Regions from separate parts of the Homo sapiens genome. Here all the other regions are linked to region 2. The links are contacts of gene promoters, found by promoter capture Hi-C in blood cells and fetal thymus (Javierre and others, 2016). All regions are on one chromosome and are shown on one strand. The core of a region is centred on a gene start or on the middle of the fragment in contact, and the rest is flanking DNA. Distances in the headings are between cores, read along the strand shown.

What was found. Contacts are between HindIII fragments. The CHiCAGO score rates a contact against its expected background, and 5 or more counts as called.
Region 1: the fragment with the promoter of LRRC59 here is called in contact with the fragment with the promoter of COL1A1 in region 2 in 3 of 17 cell types (neutrophils, megakaryocytes and endothelial precursors); the score reaches 8.8 in neutrophils.
Region 3: a contact is called between a fragment that was not itself captured here and the fragment with the promoter of COL1A1 in region 2, in 2 of 17 cell types (M1 macrophages and megakaryocytes). The highest score is 6.0, in M1 macrophages.

Annotation. Positions count from the first base shown.
Region 1 is chr17:50,396,128-50,398,896 of GRCh38, forward strand. LRRC59 (leucine rich repeat containing 59) reads right to left here and starts at 1,396. Exons shown (of 7, transcript NM_018509.4): 1 at 1,086-1,396. The coding sequence starts at 1,190. It overlaps LRRC59-AS1 (LRRC59 antisense RNA 1), which reads left to right. Exons shown (of 2, transcript NR_199069.1): 2 at 1,089-2,430. RefSeq lists a silencer at 1,373-1,442. The HindIII fragment of the contact is 2,181 bases long and covers 494-2,674 here.
Region 2 is chr17:50,200,381-50,203,080 of GRCh38, forward strand. COL1A1 (collagen type I alpha 1 chain) reads right to left here and starts at 1,251. Exons shown (of 51, transcript NM_000088.4): 1 at 1,031-1,251. The coding sequence starts at 1,133. RefSeq lists a silencer at 466-515. The HindIII fragment of the contact is 2,253 bases long and covers 1-2,051 here.
Region 3 is chr17:50,346,788-50,349,487 of GRCh38, forward strand. All of the region lies in intron 1 of XYLT2 (xylosyltransferase 2), which reads left to right. Among named protein-coding and RNA genes, the nearest start is that of XYLT2, 2.0 kb to the left of the region's middle. RefSeq lists a silencer at 461-755. The HindIII fragment of the contact is 886 bases long and covers 945-1,830 here.

The DNA of each region.
Region 1 (2,769 bases), core at 146-2,645, 200 kb after region 2:
CTTTCTGTCACAAAGTCGTAAAAGTGAAGTTTGACCACCTAAAAAAGTTTTAAATACTACAGCGGGAAAAACACAACAACAGCTACAAGTATCAGTATTTGCTCCTTCCAAGCATTTTCCATTACAATGGTATTTAACCTCCCAATAAGCGTATGAGATGGAAACTATTATCACCATTGTATAGATGAGGAGATCTAGGCATAAAGGCTAACTAGCTTGCCAAGGGCACTCGGCTATTAAGCAATGGAGCTGGGAGGAGCTAGGAACCCGGTTCTAACCACTGTAATACCCGTCCACGGTGGAAGAAAGACTGGGCCCAGCGCCCAAGGCAAATGTAATTTATCAACGGCAGAAAGCAAAGTGTGGGTCACCCAAAGTGAGTCTAGTAGGGCGTTGGCGCGGGTGGGAGGGGGAACGGAGTGGGAAAAGGAGGGATGTGGGAACTAGCTCCACGCTGACAAAACTAGATGCCTGCTATCTCTCTGGAGCTGTAAGCTTCAGTTTACAGGGGAAAGGTTGGGGGAGAGAGGGGCGAAAGGGACTCCCGCCAGTTTCAGCGGAATTCAGATGACAGTTTACCAGCCAAGCTGGGGGGAGACTTTACTTTCTTCGAGTTAGGCTGCCTCAGGGCTCGGGCAGCCAGCTGGAATTGCCAGCTTCCTAGAAGAGCCAGGTTCTGGGCCACACCCAGGTCTACCAGGAGGCCTACTCCCCTGGAACAAGTCACTCATTCATTCTCGAATACATCCAGTAACTGCTCCGTGTGCTCCTACTCAGAGTCGGGCACGGAGGTGGGCGCTGTGAAAGCCCCGCAAAGGTGACAGATTCGCTTCTTAGCCTGTAAAAAGCCTAGGGCCAGAGAAGCAGATCTTCCCTATGTTCTGGAACTGCGCCAAAGTGACACGTGTACATCCCGGGAAGAACCTTGGGCTGGACGCGGCCTCCTAGGGGACTTAGTCCCACCACCCCGCTTCTTTTTAAAGAAAAGGAAACTGATGCTTTTAGAGAAGAGGAAAGTAAGTGGCCCACGTAGGGGCCAGCGCCCGGCGAAGGTGGGCGCCTGGGCCTCGCGGGACGATACTGACCAGCTCCTTCACCGGGACCTCATTCAGGTCGCTGAGGCTCAGGTCCAGTTCGTTGCCGTCCAGCTTGTCGCGGAGGTTCCCGCCCTTGCTACCGGCCTTGGTCATGGTAACGCCGGCTGAGCGGGCCCCGGCTCCGGGGTTCCGGCGGGTGAAAGGAGCTGAAATGTCGCTTGTCAGTTCAGCGGCCCCCCACCCAAACGACGACGCCTGAGCCCTCCGTCGCCGCCGATGCGAGACCGCCTCCGCCCGCTGGCCGCACTCCGAGCCTCGCGCCTAGCTCCCACCGGTGCCGCGACGACGACCACTTCCGTGTCCACGTCACCTTCCGCGACCACTGAGATGGGCTGGGCCAGAGCGGCCCGAGCGTGTGCGGGCACGCCCCCTGGTGCCCAGGGTGATGCACTGCACGTCGCCGCCGCCGGAGGGGTGGGGTTGGAGGCTGCGAGCTCGGTTCACGTTCACCCGTGGCCCGCGGGCATTATTGCTGGCAGTGCCACGAGGCGAAAGGGCACGGACTGGGCGCCAGAAGACTGGGTTGACATCCAATACTGACCTCATCAGATCACCCCAATCCCCCTGATTAGGAGCAGAAGCTGGGTGTCCTCTAAAACTGCTCCCTGTCCTCTACTTAACCCCCGAATAACCATCATGGGGAAAACTCTTCTTCCTGAATTTCTCCTCTCTCCTCCCCACTCACTGCCTCAGTGCTTGTCTCTGTCCTTCCATCCACTTTCACCCAGCTCCCCGGTGATCTTTCTAAAAATCTGGCCAAGTCTCTCCCCTACGTAAAACCCTTCAAACTTGCAGCTACCTCTAGGATACGGACCACTTTCCTTTGGAAGCTGGGTCCTGCCTGCTTTCGCAGCTTCCTCACACGCTCCAGTCCCTGCCTGGCCTAGATGCTGTGTAGATTTCCAGGAGGTGGCTCCCACGTCTGGCCCTCCCCAGCGATGGCCCTCCCTCCCCCCCACTCACCTCTGTCTAGCTAATTCCTTAGTCCTTCAGGAAATCTCCCCTGAACACCGTGAATGCCAGACTGAGTTAGCGCCCCCCCCAACCAACTTAGGTCCCTGTTTGCTACTTTATCATCAGAGACAGTAGAGCTTGATGGCCAAGTGGGACCTCTGGCACTAATACCTATCCACTGGGTATTCATCCTGGCTCTGCCACTTGCTACTTATAAAACCGTAGACAATCACCAGGCTTCAGTCTTATCTATGAATCAATCTATGAGACATGTAGCTAACAGAGGTTGGGGAGAACTGAAGGAGTAAAACACACCAAGAGCTTACAGCAGTCACTGGCACTTAGTAAGTACCCAATAAATATTAGCTACAATTCATGATCCACCTTGTATTATACTCATCTTTATGTGTCTGTCCTTCATTCTGGACTGTGAGGACAGGGATTTTTGTCTTAATCATCTTCGTATGCCCAGAGTTGGCATACCCTGATGCAGGGTAGCTACTCATTCAGATGTCTGTTGAATAAATGAATAGATGGATGGATGAATGAATGAATGAATGAAGGAAGGAAGCACTTTACCCACTCCAAACCTCAGTTTACTCATTTTGAAATAGGGATATTAAAGCTTATCTCAGAGGGGCCGAGCAGGATAGCTCACACCTGTAATCCCAATACTTGGGAGGCCAAGATGAGAGGATTATTTGAGGCTAGGAGTTCA
Region 2 (2,700 bases), core at 1-2,500:
CCCGCCCCCATTCCCTGGGCAGGTGGGGTGGCGGGGGCGGGGCTAGGAGAATGGGAGCGGCTGATTGGAAGGGAGGCCCCCCCAAGACTTGAAATGTACCTCAAAATTAGGAGACACCCTAACCTCCAGCACCTAGACATCTTAAAAGCCCGCTCTCGGGGCCATCCCCAGTCCCCCAAAGCCAGCCAATGCCTCCAGGTCACTTTTAGCCAAAGAACCAAAAAGTCCGCAAATAGTCCAGAAGTTAGCTAACCACTCCCACCGCGCTAGCGGCTCCCCAGACGGCCACTAGGTGTCGGGCAACGCTAAGCAATGGGGCCGGGGCGGGGCCGACCTCACCGGCCCGACTACCTCTTTAAGAGGCTTGGGCTGCCCCATCCCTGGCTTTACTTTCCAGATCTAGAGGTGGGGGTCCGCACCCAGCAATAACCCGGGTCTTCCCGCTCCGGCTCCTGCCCCAGTAAGCGTTGGACCGGGAGACGCAGTGCTCAGCATCGGTCAGCAGGGGGCGCAAGGACCCCGCCCCGCCGAGTCCGCGCCAAAGTTTCTCATCCTCCACCCGCCCACGCTCCGCACCCCCTCCGCGGCTGCCCAGCACCCCCACGGCCCCAGCAACACTCTAGCCCGCAGAGAGGGCAATCTTTCCTTATGAATCATCCCACGGCCTTCCTGATTGCTTCTACATCTTGGGCTTCAAATGCCCCGCTCGGCGCCCCCATCCCATCTTCGACGTGCTTTCCTCACTCTGCACCCAGATCCCCACTTCCCCGGTTGCGCGCTCGGGATTCTCTCTTGCACCAACTCACGCCGCGCTCCACCCTCACCTCCCGCTCCCGGGGCGCGTTCAACCCCAACCTCGCCCCAGGGTGAGCTCCCTCCTGTCTCAGGGCGCCGAGGAAGAGCCCTCATCATCTCCCTTCCATTCCCGAGTCTCCGGATCATCCACGTCTCGTTTTAAGCCGCGGCCCCCGGGACCAAGCGCAAGGCGCGATATAGAGTATCCTTGCACTCCCAAAAGTTTGGGACTTACTGTCTTCGTCTTGGCCCTCGACTTGGCCTTCCTCTTGGCCGTGCGTCAGGAGGGCGGTGGCCGCTAAGAGGAGCAGGAGCCGGAGGTCCACAAAGCTGAACATGTCTAGACCCTAGACATGTAGACTCTTTGTGGCTGGGGAGGGGGTTAGCGTCCGCTCATGCGTGGCCTCACACTCCGCGTGCCTCCTGCTCCGACCCCGAGGAGAAACTCCCGTCTGCTCCGACGACTGGCCCGGGCCCCTTTTATACTGTCCTGATGGAGAGCAGGGAGGAACCCTGCCCCTCGGAGAGGGGGAGCCGGCCGCCCGTGCCCCAGCCAATCAGAGCTGCCTGGCCCGGCCCCCAATTTGGGAGTTGGAATGGAGAGGGGGAGGAGGAGGGAAGGGAGTCCACCCCACATCTCCCCTCTTCGCAGCTCTGCCTCCCCAGCCCCCCAGCCCAGCCTGGGCCAGAGGTGCTGTGGTAGGGGTGCAGCTGGGTCCTCAGAATGGCGTGGGCTAACCAGTGGGTAGGGGTGCCCCTCTGCTCTCTTCCTGGGACCTCCAATCTAGAAGAAGTGGAACTGGGGAACTGGGGAGCTGGGTGGGGAGACTTCCAAAGGTGGAAGGGTTGGGGGTGTTGGGGAGGGGGTCCTCCTGGCTGTGCCCCAGTCACCCTCTGATATCCTGGCAAGAGCTAAGGGAGGGGCATAAAGAGGCATGCTGAGGACCTCTCCAAAACAGAGGAAGCTGGGAATTAAAAAGATGTGCCTGTTTGGGGGTGTCTTCTGGTGTGGCTAGGGGATGGAGCTTAGGAATATTTGGGGAACAATTTACAGATTCCTTTCTAGACATTAAGAATCAGATATCTGAGGGAGGGGTGCAGGCAAGGGAGTTTTAATTTTGAGGATGTCAATTCTTCTGCTGTGCTCCAGAACAGAATCAAATGCCTTCCTCCAAACCCTAGGCATGATTGAGAGATGGAGTGGGGAGGCTGAGGTGCAGGGTGAGAAACATGACTAGGTGGCCTCTGCAGAAGAAAGCTTTGGTGGTTGGGTGATGGAGCAGCCAAGGTAGGGGTGGGGGATTCTAGGGACACAGAGGTGGGGATTGGGGCTTGCAATCCCCTAAAAATTCATCCCCCAAACTCTTCCACCCCAGAGTTGGGAAGTATTTTTAGTGGGAGGCCTGTGATCATTGGTGACTTAGAGAAGAGTTTTGTTTGCCATGGCTGTGGCCAGGGGCTGCTTAGAGACCCTCCTTCCCAGCACAGTCAAACCAGAGAGAACCTGGGTGGAGGGAGGGCACTTAGCTAAAGGGGTGTCTTTCTGGGAGCTGCATAAAGCCCCTTCTCCAGTTGTACCTGGACTCAGTGTTGGGGATGTATGGGATATTTTGGGTGTCTGGGTGAAACTTTCCTTTGGGGGTGTGGGATGGGCTGCAGAGGATGATTGACTTTGTTTTAGGGGCTACTTCCCACTGCCTCATCTCTTTCTTGAAAATCCCGGTCATTGCTCTATGCCTTAGGAACCAGAGAGAATCATCTGTACACTCTGAAAGGGTCTGGGGACCCGAAGGACAGCAGGCTATATCTAAGGAAGATGGCTCTAGAACTCCACGTCCTTTCTTCCTCCATGTCCCATTCCCCCAACAAGGCTCTGCCTCAACCCCAATCTACCTCGTCCTGAGA
Region 3 (2,700 bases), core at 138-2,637, 150 kb after region 2:
GGACAAAGTGTGTACCCGGGAACTGAAGGAACAGGGAGTGACGCCGAAGGAGAGAACTGGAGTATTCCCGAGGTGTGGCTTCCTCAGCCGGGGGTTTGAAGAACCTGGATGGGTCTCCGGAGGGCAGGGAGAGGAGGAACTGAGCTGGTGAGTTGGCCTCAGGACCTTAGGGAATTAGGGAGGGGCCCTCTGGCTTTAAGGGAATGGGGACTGTAACAGAGCCCCAGCCGCAGAGCAGGGGCAACCAACAGCCGTCTCAGCCCCCAAGTCCCTGCCTCGAGGGTCTTTCTCCCTCTTCCCCGATGTGGTTTCAGCGGGAGGCTCAGACACCTCAGCGGTGTGGTGAGGAAGGGTCCATTGGGTCTGGGTTCGTGCTGCGGAGATGGAGAGGACAGGCCACACCACAGCCCTAAGCTGTGGCCCAGAGGTCAGGACCTCCCTGCCCCCAGCGCCCCTGTTCTGCTGCCTCCAGGGCTCCGGGTCAGAGACTCTATCTGCTGCTGTCCTCCGGCAAGCCCCGATACCCGCGACCCCTTACCGCATCTCGCCAGTCTGGAAGGCCTGGTGTGGAGACAGAAGAGCTGCCCTTGCCTTTTTTTGGGAGAACCCAGAGGGTGGGATGGTGATGGGGGCTGGAACAGAGTCACATGAGACCATAACTCCAAAAGGAGGTGGGGGCGGGGGTGGGGCTGGCTCCGTGACATCCGTGGGGTGTAGACCTACAAGTAGGACAAGCAAGTAGGAGAGTGTTTCAGGCCCAGTGTAAGAAGACTGTTTGGGCAGATGGGACATTCCAAGATGGAATGGGCTGCCAAAGCAGTTAGGGAGCCCTCTGACCCTGGAATATGTGACCACTCTGGGCTACCGCCCCCATCCCCCACCACCTCCTCCTCCAGCTTCCTGGCTGAATGAATAGGGGAATCCTGGGCTGGAATGTTTGAAAAAGCTTGTGCGGTCCAGGCACCCATTGCTGCTTGGACCCCCTCAGCTGCTCCCTCACCTGACTCTGGGGTTGCCAGGCAGCATAACGGGGTGCATGGGAAGGTGAGTGCTGAAGCTGGACCACCCACTTCACCACTCTCTTCCAGCTCTGACCCTGAGAAGACCACCAGCAAATCACTTTGCCTCCTCCCTTATCCTTATCAGTATCCCTCCTCAAGATGGGGATAATAATGGCACCTCCCGTGTTAGGTGATTATAAAGATTAAGTGAAAATGATGCCTGTGAAGCACTTGCAGGAGTTCCTGGCACATGCTCAGCTGTCAGTAAATAAATAACTCTTATTATCCCAGCACTGTGCATTGGGAATACGATTCATTCATTCATTCATTCATTCCACAAATAGGTGTGAAGTCCTACTTTGTACTAGACACTGTGCTAATACTGGGGATACAAAAATAAAATAGATGAGGTCTCTGCCCTCATGGACAGGTAATCTACAGAGAGAAACAGACAGCGAAAAGGAATTTAATAGAATTACAAAGGGGTTGGCTTAGATCAGGGGGTCAGGAAAGGCTTCTCACAGGAAGAGGTGGGCAGGAGAGTTCAGGCAGAAGGCCTGAGGAGAATGGGCTTAGCTGGGCACCCTTGAGGAATGGACAGGAGGGTGTGGTGCTTTCCCTGAAAGAAGGTTCCATTCTGTGCGGCTGAAAGGACCAGAGCAAGGGGCAAGGGTTTTATTCTAAGTGCAGTGGGAGAGCACTGAAGGGGTTTAAGCAGCACAGGATTCAGTGTGCATTTAAGACGTGCACTCTGCCCATCTATGGAGAGGCTGAGAGTGGATCCCAGGGATGGTCACGAACCTCCAGAGAGCCACTTTATAGTTTCCAAAGCTTCCACAAACACCATCTCACCACTTGTTTTAAATGCAGCCCGAGAAGTCAAAGGAGGTGGGGTATGGGGGGAGCATTTCTGTGTTCACCCTTTCTGTGACTCAGAGAAGGATTCTAAGGTGGAGCTACAGAGCCAGGAAGTGGCAGAGGATTTTAATCGCCTCCTTGGAGGAGAGGAAGGAGCCTCTGAGGCCAGAATGTATCCCAGCCAGAAGTCAGAGGACCATTCCCTACCCTCAGTCATCAGAAGGGCTCCTGACCTCAGGGGCTGCTGGGGGCAGCCTGTGAGGGGCACAAGGCTGGGGCTGTGATGACGATGCTCCTTGGACATGCCTGGAAGGGATGGAGGTGGGGGCTGACTGCCCACCAGGGCCTCTGCTCCCTCACTGCTGCCTCCTCATCCCCCAGCCTCCTCTGGGATTGTCCTTCTCAGGGTCAGCCAGCTCCCACTGCAGTGCAGGGACCAACATGCCCATCTCCTCCCACATCCTGGCCCCCACCACAGCCAACCTGGCCCCGTGCCTCATGCCCTGCCCTCCTGACCAGCTTCCTAACTCACTGATACTGGCTTCCACTCGGAGAGCCTACAGCTCTCTGCCATCTACCCACCTAAGCTTGGGAATGTCTTTCTCTGCTTGTGCTCTGTAGCCAGCTCACATGTCACCAGGCTGATGCACACTCAGCTCAGTGGGGCTGCATTTACCTTTCCTAGGGATTCCCCAGCCTGTGGTGCCCTCCCCAGTGTGGGTAGAGAATAGGGTCTGCTGCCTCCTCTTGCAGGTATCTCTTCTCGGATGGGAATGGGCGCCCCCAGCTCCCACTGGCCACCTTTAAGAGATCAGAGGGCAACCGGGCACTGTGGCTCATG